2 separate regions of the Homo sapiens genome follow, and region 2 is linked to region 1. The links are contacts of gene promoters, found by promoter capture Hi-C in human tissues and cell types (Jung and others, 2019). All regions are on one chromosome and are shown on one strand. The core of a region is centred on a gene start or on the middle of the fragment in contact, and the rest is flanking DNA. Distances in the headings are between cores, read along the strand shown. Region 1 holds the start of PNOC (prepronociceptin). Region 2 has its middle 64 kb from the start of PNOC.

Region 1 (7,819 bases), core at 1,840-4,339:
TATCAGGAACCCCACACACGTTCCTTGGCCGAATGAATGAAAGGATGAATGGGGAAGGAGGGTGGGGGGAAGATTGCAGGCCAGTGTGGAAAGAGGGGAGGTTGGATCTGAGCCACTGTGGGATGGCAGAGCTGGGGTGCATGGTGAGGCATGCTATCTACTCCACCTGCCAGGCTGGGCCCCCGGGCTGATGATTTTGTGCTTCTGCAATGTTGAAGCAGCTGCCAGTATTTTGAAAAAAAAAAAAAAAAAAAAAAAAAAAAAGAAAGAAAGAAAGAAAGAAACAAACAAAAAAAACCCCACAGGATCGTGGAAAATTGAGACTGAAACTAATTGTAGCCTATCCAGGGAGATGCCCAGAAAACTGGCTTGCCCCTGAAATCGATGTGCTCCAAATCTCATGACTAGTTTGTGATTAGATGGAAAACTTTATGTTCGACTGTGGGATTTAAATAAAGGCGTTTAGAAAATCCAGTTTGCTTCATGACTGCCCAGCAATTCAAGCCACTGCCAGCCACTCATTGTCAGGACGGCTCCCGTTTTCTGAGAAGGGCCCGTCCCTTTCCTAAGATATCTGAGGAGTAGCTCCACCCAGACTCGGAATGCAAGATATTTCAAAGCTTCCTTCGTGGGCTTTGGGAGCTGTGGAGCTGGATGGAGAAATGAGGGATCACTGAACCGTGTCAGTGCAAGTAGAGAACGCTCACCTGAAACTTCCCATTCCTACCAGTGTGCATATGTGCATGTGTGTATTAGCATGAAATAAGCACGTAGACAAGCTTAGCTCACTGCCTGGCACAGAGTGGGTTTCAAGAAATGTTAATTCCTTTGCCCTCATTTTATGTGTTTGACCTGGCTGCTGCCTCCCTCTTCAAAGCCCTTCACCCATCCAAATTCCACCTGCCTTCTCACTTGGTAGGATCCCAGGAATGCCTGGAGGAAATGCTCCTTCTCCCGAATTCTTCTAGCACTTGCTCTCTGGATTATGTGATTTAGGACTGAATTACACCCTGCCTTGCATGGTCCTCTAATTGTTTCTCATGTTTGTGTTACGTCTCTCCTCTACCCCCGACCCCACTATGAGTTCATAAGCACCCCTGACCGTAACGGGGAGATGAACTGGAGCCACAATGCCTTGGCTCAGTCCTGACCCTGCCATGTACTGAATAAATCATTTAATCTCTCAGTTTCAGTTTCTCCAACTGCAACACCGAGATAATGGCACCACCTCACAGGGCTGTTGCTGGGATAATAGGTGTGAAAGCGCCTAAATCGTTGTACAAATGTAAAGTGCTGTTATTATCACCTCTGCTGAATCTACTAGAGCCCCTGCAAGCCTCCCTGCCTGGTGGAGTGTAGACGGTAACTACCTGATTGATTGAATACAGGATAGCTTAGTGACAGCTCTTGTCATAGGCTCCAGGGAGCACAGGTTTGAGCCTAATCCTGCAATCACTCCCTTCACTGACAATGCAAACTCGCCTGCATTTTACAAATCCGTAAGTACTCTCAGCCTTCAGCTGATAAAGCAGGGGCTGCTGCCCTGTGCGCAACAAAACTGCGCCCTCAAAATGACCCGAGGCTGTACCACAGCGCCCTCGCCAGGCAGCACCAGGCGGCACATGCTTTTACAGAGGTGGTGATGGTTGGGGATGGGTTTTCCAGGGACCCTCCTCTGCAGAAGACTCAGCAAGCCCAAAGGAGCACGAATCCTTTTTGTTAAAGGTAACATAGCCTCAGTGTAAGCTTGTAGAATATTTCCCTGCCACACTTTACAAATGAGAAAAAAAGAGGCTGCATGCAGTAGCCACCCACAAGCAGCGAAAAAGAGCAGTATTTGCTTTGGGAGGTTTTGATAAGAAGCCAGGCAGTTACTTTTCCCATCTATGTTGAAAACTCTGGTTTGGGCTTGCTGGCGAATGCCGTGCAAAGCTCATCTTTTGTTAGTCTGCCGAACAATGTTATTGGTTATAATTGGGGCAATTATGGGCTGCTTGAGGAAGCTAAACACAGATGTTTAAGCGCAGGATGGGGGTATTCAAGTCCAAAGCAGCTTGCTTTAAATAGTCCATTTCCCGAATCATCCTGCCTTACTTGAAATTCCCCCAGAACTTGCCCATGTTCAGAGCGAGATTCGGGGAGGAGGGGCTGGGTAGTGAAGCCGGGGAAGCAAGACTCGAGGGAGAGAGATGCACAAAGAGAGGAGGAAGAAAGAAGGTGGCTGAGAGAGCCTCGAGAGTTGGGATGCGGTGACTATGAACGGAGTATTCTGCATGACCTGGGCAAAGACCTTTAGGTGGGGGAGATGGGCAGGGGGAGAGGGATGCCAAGCAAGAGAAGAGCCCTCTAAATGAATCGGGTTCTGGGAGACCAAGGTCACGCCCGTAGAAATGCTCTCTGGAATTCACACGCCGTGGCGCTCAGCAGTGTGTGTATACAGGTGAAGCACACTCCCCAGATCTGGCGCTTCCCCATTATTTGTAGCAATTTCTGCTGGGGGCAGAAGGGAGAAGGGCTCCCTCCGGATTAAAAACTCCCATCTGGATGGCATCAAGTTCAGTGATAGGCGGAGAAGCAGCCTGCGCACCGCATCTGAGAGGAAAGGAAGCCACTGAGAGGAAACCCTCATGAGGGGGCCAGGGTCTTCCTGGGGGCCGCCCCGTGGAAGGCAAACCCCCTCCCAAGTGCCTGCCCCTCCTCTGGCCTCACTCCTCCAGCAGCCTCCTCTCGACACAGAGCAACAACCACGTAGGGGCCACAGCTGGGGAAGCAAAACTTTTCCTCATTTCCAAGTTCCCCTCTTTCTGCTTCTGCGTCTGTCTGAGGTTAAAAAAGAGACTCAGCCCTCCCCCGTTCCCCACCATCCAAGCGCTACAAAGGAGATGAATGAAGAAACCATCTCGCAAGAGGCCAGCAGCATCCACACTGGACAAAGGAGAGAGGCCGAGGAGCCAGCCCCTGGTGGCCCTGCCCTCCCGGAGCTCCACGCAGTTAGTCCAGTTAGTCGCGGTCGGGCTGGGGGCCCCGTGCAGTTGCCTACCTGAGAGCTGTCAGTCCCCGGCTCCCTCCGATGGATGCGAGGCTCGGTTCCGCTTTCTCAGCCACACCAGCATATATATCCTCTCCCCCACGCACAGCCCTCCCCTTCCCTGCCCACCTCCATGACACATACACACACTGACCCCCTTCAGCAACCAAACAGCAGAACCTGCAAGCCTTCCTGGCTGTTCCCTTCCCCCGGCTCTGCCATCAGACCTGTGACATCCCCACCTCCCCATCAATCCATTCTCAAGCCTGCTTCACCTGGACTCTGTTCAGCCAGGATCCCACAGCTGCCTTCCCTGTGCTTCCAGAGGCTCTGTGAGGACTGATGGGGAGCTCTGGCAAGTCAGAAAAAAAGCCTCCTGGTGACAGTGACGAGGCAGACCCCAAATCCTGGAGTCTCCTTGAGCAACCTTTTTGCCTGAGGAGTGAAGAATAGGAGGCAGGCAGAAGGGAGGGGAGCTCATGCCAAGCTCCTACCGACTCGGAGGAGCCCAGGGCTGAGCTAAGCCAAGCCCTGACCTAATGTCATTGCCCCTAACTAGGCCACTCAAGAGGTGGCTGCACCTGCCCTGGGCCAGGTCAGGAGGCATTTCCACAGGTGCCCACAGCATGGTGCAATGGAGAATGCTGAGACTCGAGGCTCAGATGGAAGTGTCTGAAATTCGGCTGTACAGTCAGAGCAAGGCACATCTCTTTGTGAACCTCAAGTCCTCCTTCCGGAAAATGAGTCTAATACTGCCCAGGATGGTTGTGAGTAGAAAAAGGAGATTCTGTTTGAATCTACAACACACGAGGCCCTTAATGAATGTGCTGCATCCTCCCTCTCCTCTCAGCCCGCTTTTCACACTGATTAGTACCACCTGGATGTAGAAATCCCATATCAGTGTCTGGTGTCACAACAGAGAGCTTTTAAAGCTTCTGCAACTTAGGGCATCACTACCGAGGGCCCTGGAGGCTCAGAAGCTCTGGAAGCTTCCCTGTCCCTTACTGCAGAGCCTCTTTGTCTTCTACAGCCGCCGGGGGTTGTGGGCTGCAGGAAAGGAGCTCACAGGCTGAAGGCACAGGCTTGAGGGTTTAGCATCCTTGTGGACCCCACGTTTCCTTACCTTAGGTGAATTTCACCATGACCCTGTCCTTGGTTTTCCTAAGAGGGTCTAAAATATTCCAGAATCCCAGGGTTTGAACCTATGTCATCCAAGGAGCTCAAGCACTCATTCATGTGGTTAAGTCCAGCTCTCTGGTCTACCCAGGACTGGGTGGAGAAGGATTGAGGGAAGCATCTGCCCTGACTGCAAATGGTATAGGGTTTCTTTTTGGGGTAATGGAAATGTTCTGGATTTAGACTGAGGTGATGGTTGCACAACATAGCAAGAATACTAAAACCCACCAAATTGTATGCTTTAAAATGGTGCATTTTATGTTATGGGAATTACATCTCCATAAAAAGAAAATAGGAAAAAGACAGCAAACATCTGCTCAGGTTAAGAGCAACAGGTTCTGAGAATAAAATTTCCCTTCCGTCTGTGTTCACAGCAAAAGGGCTCAGGAGACCAGCATACTCATGATTCTTCACTTAGATCTCTGTTGCCCAAACCTTACACTGCAGGTCGCAGCTACCATTTTGGACTCTTTGGGAAACCAGCATGTTCACTGACTGACACGGGGTCACTTTTGCATCCTGATGTACTTCAGTGTCTCAGGCCTGGAACCTGATTTCATACATGATGTGGCAGATATTGCAGGCTGCCTACCCAATCCCCATTTCCCTGTTCTTCCTTACTAAACGGTACCCTTGATTTTATTCCAGGCATCAATGCACTTAGCTAAAAGACTACATTTCCCATTGACCAAGGGTTGCCAATGAGCATTAAGCTGCAGGTCCTTGGGTGGGGTTTCCAGGAAAGCTTTTTTTTTTTTTTTTTTAGACGGAGTCTTGCTCTGTCGCCCAGGCTGGAGTGCAGTGGCGCCAACTCAGCTCACTGCAAGCTCTGCCTCCCAGGTTCATGCCATTCTCCTGCCTCAGCCTCCTGAGTAGCTGGGACTACAGGCACCTGCCACCATGCCTGGCTAATTTTTTTTTTGTATTTTTTTTTAGTAGAGACGGGGTTTCACCATGTTAGCCAGGATGGTCTTGATCTCCTGACCTTGTGATCTGCCCACTTCGGCCTCCCAAAGTGCTGGGATTACAGGTGTGAGCTACTGAGCCTGGCTGGGAAAGCTCTTTTAAAGGGGGTCAACTCACTGAAGGCCTCTCTCTCTTCTTTGTCCTCCCTCCATCCTGCCTGGGACACAAATGTGATGGCTGGAGCTCTAGCAGCTATCTTGGATTATGAGATAAGACAACTTTGAGGATGGAAGCCATGAGTAAATATGATGGAACATAAAGATGGAAGGATTTTGGGTCCCCCATGACTAATGGAATGGCCATATCAGTCTTGGACTCCAAACTTCAACCTTTTTTTAAAAACAAAAAAAAAACAAAAAAAACCCCAAACATTTATTTCAAATGTCAGTCAGGGTTCAGTTACCCATTGCTGCATAACAAGCCACACCAAGGCCAGAGGCTTGAAACAACAGACCACGTATTTGACTCATGATTCTACAGATTGGGAATTTTGGCTAGTCTCAGCAGGGCAGTTCTTCTGGTCTCAGCCTGACTCTCTTCTGCACCTGCAGTTGGACTCAGAAAGTTGGCTGGGTGTCAGCTGGGGACCTTGGTTCTCTTGCACATGTCTTATCCTTCATGGGTCTCTCACATCCCTCCAGCATATTAACCTGGCATAGTCTCATGGCAAGCCTGAAGTGAAAGCACAAGCAAATACAATCAAGCAAGGGAACAACCGCAAGCACACAGAACCTCTTGAGACCTAAGCATGGAGCTGGCAGTCCATTGCTTTTGCTACATTTGTTGGCTAAGGCCAGTTGCAAGACTGTCCAGAGCCAGGCTGGGTGGAGACTACAAAGTCCCAGGATAATAGAGGGTGGCTATGCAGAAGCCATTCATTGGAGGCATTTGAAACTTTTACTTCCTATGATTTAAGCCATTTAGTTGGATTTTCTATTACATCCAGTGGAAAATTACCTTAAACCAACACACCTGCCTTTGAGCACCTCGTCATTCCCAGGATGTTCAGGCAGCTAAATGCTTTTCTTCCCTTGCAGTTGAGGAAGAGAAAGAGCAAGAGTGAAAAGTCACTTAGCTTCTCTGGACTTTTCTTTCCTCATTTACCAGACAGAAGAGTTGAACCCAACACCTGGATATTCTTGGTGGGTTGAATGAAGCTGCATGTGGTGGCAGGCTGTCTCCAGTGATGGATGGGGAAGGGCAGGATGAACCCAGGAGGGAGTTTAAAACCACTGTTGGGTGGGGGAGTAGAAGAATCTTGCCCCTCAGAAAAGCACAAGTAGACTAGAAATGGTGCAGACTGTGTGGCGTTTGTGATGGCTTCAGGGCTTCCCCCTTGCCACACAGCCACTGAGACTTGGCACTTTGAGAGCCATGGGCTTCCCTTGGGTATGGTAACTGGTCACAGAGCAGCAAGCTGCCCCCTGCTTTTCTGATTGGCAGGATACATTTATTAAAATAGTTGGAAAAGAAAGGTCACATGTTCTTATTTCTACTGCTTTGTGTGTGTGTGCACGCGCGTGTGTGTGTATGCGTGTGTGTGTGTGTGCACAAGAACTTGGAATTAATAAAATTCTTGGCTGGGCGTGGTGGTTCATGCCTGTAATCCCAGCACTTTAGGAGGCCAAGGTGGGAGGTTTGCTTGAGCCCAGGAGTTCAAGACCAGTCTGGGCAACACGGCAAGACCCTGTCTCTATAAAATATAAAAAACTAGCCAGGTGTGGTGGTAAGCACCTGTAGTCTCAGCTACTTGGGAGGCTGAGGAGGGAGGATTACTTGAGCCTGGGAAGTTGAGGCTGCAGTGAGGCATGATTGAGCCACTGCACTCCAGCCTGGGTAACAGAGTAAGACCTTGTCTCATAAAAATAAAATAAAATAAAATAAAATAATGATTTCTTCTGCTTATGAGGTGGCGGAAGTTCACTCCTGCCCACACCAGCTTGGCATCTTCTTTGCAATAGAGGCCCAACCAGGGAGGCTGCAAACATTAGAATCCAATCTGTACTGATAGGTAAGTTTTGAGGCAGATTGAGAAAGCTCTTAAAATTGTCATCAGAATATCTCAGTAGAGGAAGTACAAGGGAAGGAGGCAGCTGCAGCTGGGCCCCATGTGCAGCTCAACGCACCTCCACCCACCTGCCAATTTTCCCCTCTCAGAGTAAAGAGCCTCTCCTGGCCAGGTATTTGGCTGCTTGGAATTTACTGATTAATTACGGCGCCTACCTCCAATTGGTCTCCTTAGTAACCACGTTAGCAGGGTCCCACTGGAAAAGCTGCTTCTTACTCAATGAGGGCAAACTCTTCACATTTTAAAACACTTTTAAGTCAGAACACAATGGATTTTAAAAATAGAGGGACACACACATTTCTTCACAACTTTGCATCAAAATATGGATGGACTTTTGAACTATTGAGGGCAAGTTACACTTTAGTAATCAGCAAGAGCTAGGTTTAAAGGAAGAGTTGGGTGAATACAGTTTCAATGCAAATGGCCAATGATTGCCTTTGCAAGTATAGGTTTGACTACCAGAGTATCCAGCCTCGCTGGGCTAGGTGATGTGAGAATGAAAGATGTCCTTACACTCAAGAAGCCGGCCCAGGGGACAAGTTAGATCAATGAATGGTGACCAGCACAGCATTTGCTATAGT
Region 2 (7,819 bases), core at 1,599-4,098, 63 kb after region 1:
AATGTCTCAAGATATTTTTGGTGTTCAAAACCGGGAGGTGCTACTGGCGTCAAGTGGGTGGCAGCCAGGAATGCTGTTTAATATCCTACAATGCCTGGAATGGCCCCCACCACAGAGAATAATCCAGCCCCAGATGTTGTTAGCACAAGGGAGAGAAACCCCACTCTAAACCCGAGAGAGGAAGAGGGGCAACTGCCCCAGGACACACTGTCTTCCTCCAGCCACCCACCACCCTGCTCTCACATAGCCATGCCCTGCTCAAGAACACTCAATGGCTCCCTAGTACCCATGGTCTGACCTTATATTCAAATTCAGGGCTTTGGAGAAGGGTGTGGCTGGTGCTGTCCCACAGGCCAGAGACACTGGGCTTGAACTTCCTATTCCTATCACTTCTGACCTCCAGATCACCTTAAGAAATTAAAAATCTACTTTTCATTAAAAAAGCACAAGGTCCTGTTCAACAGAGATCAGACAGGTATACAAGTTATTATAGTTGTATATATATCAAGTTATAAGTGTGGGGAGTTGAGGAAATCATTTACTCTTCCTGCGAGGGCTGGCAATGCCTCATGGGGCAGATGACAGTCAAGCTAGGTCTAGAAAAACAAGCAGGGATCAGCAGAGAAGGAAGAGGGGTTGTTCTAGGCAGAGGGTGGGGAATGACGTGCTCCGTTGAGGAATGGTGAGCCTCTAGGGGCTCTGAAGCTGTGGCGCTCAGGCTTTTGTGAACCTGAACATCACCTGGTGAATGTGTTTTCAATTCTGTCTGGATCTGTGTGTGGGTTCGGGAGTCTACACTTAAATCAGTACACAGGGTGATTTCCTTTCTCTTTCTCCCGTCCCTTCTTCCCTTCCTTCCTTCCTTCCCTCCTTCCTTTCTTCCTTTTCCCTCCTCTCTCCCCTCTCCCCTCTCCCCTCTCCTCTTTCTCCCAAACCCCTTTTTTTTCTGAGGCAGGCCCTCATTCTGTTGCCCAGGCTGGAGTGCAGTGGCATGAACACGACTCACTGAAGCCTCGACCTTCTGGGATCAGTTGATCCTCCCGCCTTAGCCCCCTGGGTAGCTGGGACTACAGGCTCACACCATCATGCCTGGCGAATTTTTGTATTTTTGGTAGAGATGGGGTTTTGCCATGTTGCCCAGGCTGGCTTATGAACTCCTGGGCTCAAGAAGTCTTCCTGTCTTGGCCTCCCAAAGTGCTGGGATTACAGGTGTGAGCGACTGCGCCCGGCCCTCAGGTGATTCTGATGCAGGTGCTCTACCGACAGCTCTGAGAAACAGGTTTCCAGGGAACACCCAGAGAAGAAGCTGAAAGTGCAGACTAGACCAAGGGAATGATTTGTATGTTCGGTTGAGGAGTTATGATCTTATTTTAACTTAAAGACAACCTTAAACTCTCTTAAGGAAAGGTCAAGACATAGTCTCCCAAAATAAGAATAGAGGTGTTTCTGGAAGTTTAACTTTGAAAAGATTTCAAATAATGAAATTAGAGCAATTTTAGCTGGATCGCTTGAGCCCAGGAGTTTGAGACCAGCCTGGGCAGCATGGCGAGACTCCATCTATACAAAAAATACAAAAAAAAAAAAAAAAAAAAAAAAAAGCAGGGTGTGGTGGCACACACCTGTGGTCCCAGCTACTTGAGGAGCTGAGGCAGGAAGATTGCTTGAGCCCAGGCGTTCGAGGCTGCAATGAGCTATGATTGTGTCACTGCACTCCAGCCTGGGCGACAGAGCAAGACTCTGTCAAAGAGAACAAAATTAGAGTCATTTTAACAATTCAACTAGATGGGATGTGATGGGAGAATTTCATCTATAAATTTGGGACTGAGATTAAATTCCAAGGATCAGCTGGAGACAAGGAAGCTGGCCAGCTGGGCGTGTGGGTTGATGAACTTTCAGATGTTTAACTTCCATCTATCACAGAGCTGGACCAAGCGTCATTTTTCCCTCTTTGGTGGAATACTTAGCTGATAGCATCGGGAAACTGGTAAATGATTCTTTCAGGCTGAAGAAACAAGTATATTTGCCTTCATAGCACTTTGAAAGAAAGTATCCAGTGGACATAATGTCATAAATGATAATATGATTTCTGTTTTCTGAGTTACTCATGTGAAAATTTATTTTTATTGTAAAATGAGCACACATTTATTTACAAAATACAGGAAAACACGGAAGAGTAGAAGGAAAAACGTCCTTCCTATGCTTATTTTCCAAACAAAATCCATTACTTTTCTAGTTTTGAAATAGACGATTATTTGTCATTTGATGTTACTTTCAGTTTGGACTGACTTGGTATGCAAGTGACCCCAGCTTATCTCAGAAAAGGTGACTTTTTTTTTTTTTCCTGGCACAGACCTGAATGAATGACCTCATTTAAATTACACTCAACTTGACAAATATCATTGAATGCCTGCCACGTGTGTGGTGCTGAGCTAGAGCCTGTGGTGGTTACAAAGATTAATAAGACACAGCACTTGATGCAAGCAGGTTATAAACTAGCAAGAGAAGCAGACCTGTGTAGAACAAGATAGGAGGATAACCCCAAGGTTAGCAAAGACAGAAGCTCATTCCATGGGCTGTTGATATGGAGAGTGGGAGTGAGAAGCATGAAAAAAATGTTTTGAGATTGTGGGATTTGAGCTGGAACGGAAAGGGCTCCTTGGTGTTGGACCGTAGAATCTGCAGGGAAAAACAATGAAGAGGTAAAATACATGGAACTTGGCAAGGGTGGCTATTGTGGCTTGAGTATGTAATAAATGGAGAATTGATTCATCAGAATTCCAAGTAGCTGCTCTCCACAAAAGAAGAGGACTTGGAGAAGAAGAGGGGGCTTTACAAAGTAAGGAGACTCACTGCGACACAGATGACAGAGATGATAGCCGGTGATGGAAGAGGAAGTGCTGGTAGAGCAACGTGGCAGGGAGGTAGGGAATCGTGTGTGTGCATGCATGCATGTTTATGTGCATAGGCACATGTGTACGTGTGGATGCATGTATGTGTGTGGATGCATGTACATGAGTGTACGCGTGCGTGTGGATGCATGTACATGAGTGTACGTGCATGCATGTGGATGCATGTATGTGAGTGTACGTGCATGCATGTGTGTATGTGTGCATTTGTATATGTGTGAACATGTGTATATGCATGTCTGTGTGTGTGTGTGCAAGTGCATTTGTATACGCGTGATATGGTTTGGATATGGTTCCCGCAAATCTCATGTTGAAATGTAATCTCCAGTGTTGGAGGTGGGGCCTGGTGGGAGGTGATTGGATCATGGGGGTGGATTTCTCAGGAATGTCTTAGCACTATCTCCTTGGTGCCGCCTTTGTGATAGTGAGTTGTCATGAGATCTGGTTGTTTAAAAGTGTGTGGCATGCCCCCTGCCCAACCTCTTGCTCTTGGTCCGGTCATGTGAAGTGCCTGCTCCCGTTTCACCTTCCACCATGAGTAAAAGCTCTCTGAGGCCTCCCCAAAAGCTAAGCAGATGCCTGTACCATGCTTGCTGTACAACCTGCAGAACCACGAGCCAATTTAACCTCTTTTCTTTATAAATTACCCAGGCTCCGGTATTTCTGTATAGCAATGCAAGAACAGCCTAATACAATGTGTGTACATGTGCACATGTGTGTGCCTGCGTGCTCGTGCATGTGTGCATATGTGTGAAGACGGAGAAGGGGAGAGACTGACTTTCGGAAGTTGCTGTTACTGAAAAGTAATTGATAAAGAGAGAGTCCAAAGAGGATTCTAGAAAGCCTTTTGTGTGACACAACTTGTAAAATTCATAAGCCGCTCTTTCTTCCTTCAAGAATTTCCAGAAATTCCTTCAAGAATTTGCTGTTGGATTTTGCTTTTTTTTTTTTTTTTTGAGATGGAGTCTCACACTGTCACCAGGCTGGAGTGCAGTGGTGTGATCTCGGTTCACTGCAACCTCTGCCTCCTGGGTTCAAGCAATTCTGCCTCAGCCTCCTGAGTAGCTGGGATTACAGGTGCCCGCCACCATGCCCAACTAATTTTTTTGTATTTTTAGTAGAGACGGGGTTTCATGTTGGCCAGGATGGTCTCGATCTCTTGACCTCGTGATCTGCCTGCCTTGGCCTCCCAAAGTGCTGGGATTACAGGCGTGAGCCACCACGCCCGGCCGGATTTTGCTTTTTCTTGGATGAGTTGCAGAGTCAGATGGCCCAATTGTAGTCTGACTTCCTGTCTAATTTTTAATAGTGTGTCCTGCAAACTTTTCAATTAATTGAGATGTATTTTTATTTCCTTGTTCTATCACCCTGTATCAGTTATCTGTTGCTGGGTCCAAAGCACCCGGAACTCTAGCTAATCAGAACTATTTGATGGCTTATGACTCTATGGGTCAGGCATTTGGGCAGGGCTCAGTGGGTTCAGCTCTCTGCTCCAAGTGTTATCAGCAGGATCAGCTGGCTGGAGGACCTAATATGACCTCCCTCACATAGATGGAGTCTTGGTGCTGGCTGTCTGCTGCGGTGTCATGGGTCTCTTTCCTGTGGCATCTTCCTCCCCATGGTCTCTCATCCTTCAGGTCTCACTCTCCATGTGGCTCCGCCCTCCAGCAGGAGAGCCTGGACCTCTTTACGTGGTAGTTGGGTAAAAAAGGAAGAGGAAATGGAAGCTGCAGGCCTCTTAGTTCTGGAACACACACAATGCTGATTGTACCACATTCAGGAGACCACAGCGAGTATCAAGACCCGCCCAGATTAAAGAGGCAGAGAACTAGATACCTCCTCTTGGCAGGAGATGCTTGAGAATGTTGTGGCCATGATTTCTAATCCACCAAACATCCCAGTGACATTCCCGGGGTTCTTTTTGGTCCCTGGCCTTGCCCTTTCTGGGAAAGTCTCCCTGCCCTAAGACAGCCAGCCTCTCTCTGCTCCATGCCTGTGCCACAGCCAGCCTGAGTCCCCTGTGGATGGGACAGGGCACAGGGTTGGGGCCTTGCATTATCAATCTCCGTGGACCACCTCTCTCTATCTAGGGAAAAATTCAATTTCCCAGAGAATTTAGGTATCCACTGGGGCGTGGTTCAACACTAACTTCTTTCCAGTCTGAGACTGGAAATGAGAAAAGTGCTCCAAGTACAAGAAACACAGTAGGAGGAGAGATTTGAAAGCCAAAACTACAGAGGATCTCCAGGTCTCTAAACATATCAGCAGAAAATCATCCATGACTCTTCTTCTCCTTAAATGGGAAAGATCTTCACGTTTCCATTTGTAATTTGCCAGTATACATTTTTCTCATATATTTTACAAAGTTTATGTTTTCTGATTCTAGAAACAATCTGTTATTGTTTGAAAAGAACTTAGAAAATTAAGAAGCTTATATGGGAGAAGGGAATCATGCCTAAATCTTACTACCTTGAAATGGCCACTGTTACTATTGAAACTATCAGATGGAATATTAGATAATACGAAATGATATTTTTAACTACATATTGGCTATGACACATAATAAAACAAACACTTGTGAGTCTACCACCCAACTTAACAACTAGGACATTGCTACATATTATGTACTCCGTATTAGGGGTCCCCAGCCCTGGGCCACAGATGGGTATTGGTCTGTGGCCTGTTAGTTACCAGGCCACACAGCAAAAGGTGAGCAGCAAGTGTGTGAGCAAAGCTTCATCAGTATTTACAGCCACTCCCCATCGCTTGCATTATTGCCCAAGCTCTGCCTCCTGTCAGATCAGCGGTGGCGTTAGATTCTCAATAAGCACAAACCCTATTGTGAACTGTGCATGCAAGGGATCTAGCTTGCATACTCCTTCTGAGAATCTAACTAATGCCTGATGATCTGTCACTGTCTCTCATCACTCCCAGATGGGACCGTCTAGCTGCAGAAAAACAAGCTCAGGGCTCCCACTGATTCTATATTATGGTGAGTTGTATAATTATTTCATTATATATCACAATGTAATAAGAATAGAAATAAAATGCATAATAAATGTAATGTGCTTGAATCATCTGGAAACCATCACACTCCCCTGTCCATAGAAAAATCGTCTTTCTGCCGGGCATGGTGGCTCACGCCTGTAATCCCAGCACTTTGGGAGATGGAGCAGGCGGATCACCTGAGGTCAGGAGCTCGAGACCAGCCTGGCCAACATGGTGAAACCCTGCCTCTACTAAAAGTGCAAAACATTAGCCAGGCATGGTGGTGGGTGCCTGTAATCTCAGCTACTCAGGAGGCTGAGGCAGGAAAATCACTTGAACTCGGGAGGCAGAGGTTGCAGTGAGCCGAGATTGTGCCACTGCATTCCAGCCTTGGCAACAGGAGCAAAACTCCATCTCAAAAAGAAAAGAAAAGACGAGAAAAATTGTCTTCCATGAAACTGGTCACTAGTGCCAAAAAGCTTGGGGACCACTGCTCTATATTATATGTGTATAAACATATGTGATATGTATTAATAATATAGATGATACACAATATGTATGTATTATCTACAATGGATAAATAGATAATATATATTACTATGTTACCATATTCCTGTATTATATATACTATGTATATATTACATAATACATGGTACATATAGTAGATTGTCTTTTATGCATATACAGGTTTCGAGGTGGGACTAACCCAGGAAGATGCTACCAACGTAAGATGGTCAACTGTGGTGTCTCTCACTTGAGAGTCCAAGGGTATCAGCTGGCAGAAGCACACCCAATGGCATGGAAACTTCCAGCAACTTCTCACAGATTCCACCCCCTGGCCTCCCTGCAAGAGGCAGACGTCATTGTGAATTTTGTGTTTGTTACTCCCTATGTACATGTATCGTAAATACCATTTTGCTTGGTTGATATTTATATTTGCTATTTTAAGCTTCATAAATCACAGGCAGCAAGCCTGCCTGTCCATTCCAGAAGGAGACATGGTCTTCATGATACTGCACAGCATGCGCACCTGACTTGCTCTGGAAGGAGATACTCTGTCTACCACAGGTTTTCACCGTACAGACATCCTTGAAAAGATACCCCGGAAGTAAGGGCTCTTTCTCAAGATGTGCAGGACTTGAGCAGCTCATGGGTAAGTGTCTGTCAACAGGAATTCATCAGCGAGCTACACAGGCCCGACCTCTTCTGCTCTCTGCAAGCTGACATTTTAGTTGGGGAGACCGGACTTTGCATAAACAAACTCAACAGACTGTCTTTAGTGCACTGAAGGAGTTAACAAAAGCATCAATGTGAGACTTTTTCAGGAAAACATGACTAAGATGGGATGGTTGAGTGAGGCCTCTCTCATTGGAGAGGCAAGCAAAAGTTACCAGCTGGTGGAAGCAGGCCGCAGGCAGCGAGAACCGCCTGCACGGCTGTTCAGAGGCACAGGAAGCGTGGTGTGTGTGGGAGCTGAAAGGCTGGTGGGTCTGGAAAGCAGCGAGCTGGGGAAAAAAAGAGGCTTGAGGCCCTGAAGCCATGGTGAGCAGTCTGAGATTTATTGTGAATGGGTATAAAAGGGTTTTACACAGGGGAGTGATAACAATCTGATTTGCATTTTTGCTAGGCACACTTTGTTGCCCACACAGAAGGGATTGGAGGGGCTTTTGAAATCCTTGACAAGTCTCTGCTGTTTCTGATTGAATTTTTAATCTATTCATTCAACCTGACATCAGATGGGCTTTGACTTCCACATTCTCAGAATTAAAACTGACTTCTAAATGTTATCGCAGATTTGTCTGTGGCTTCTAATACAAGCACATCACTTTTACTTATCTCCCTCTGCTCTCTTCTTGGGCGCTTATGTGCACTCCTTCTGGTTGGTTCAGAGAGGTGCAAAGACCCCAGCCAATGTGGGGCTGCAG

What was found. The method cuts DNA at HindIII sites, captures the fragments that hold promoters and counts their contacts. A contact is called where the count stands out against the background at its distance.
Region 2: a contact is called between a fragment that was not itself captured here and the fragment with the promoter of PNOC in region 1, in 1 of the 25 tissues and cell types used here (pancreas).

The regions. Positions count from the first base shown.
Region 1 is chr8:28,312,538-28,320,356 of GRCh38, reverse strand. It overlaps PNOC (prepronociceptin), which reads right to left and starts at 3,089. Exons shown (of 4, transcript NM_006228.5): 1 at 3,041-3,089. RefSeq lists enhancers at 1,072-1,583, 1,584-2,096. The HindIII fragment of the contact is 3,220 bases long and covers 1,264-4,483 here.
Region 2 is chr8:28,249,482-28,257,300 of GRCh38, reverse strand. No RefSeq gene overlaps it. Among named protein-coding and RNA genes, the nearest start is that of PNOC, 64 kb to the left of the region's middle. The HindIII fragment of the contact is 7,520 bases long and covers 1-6,608 here.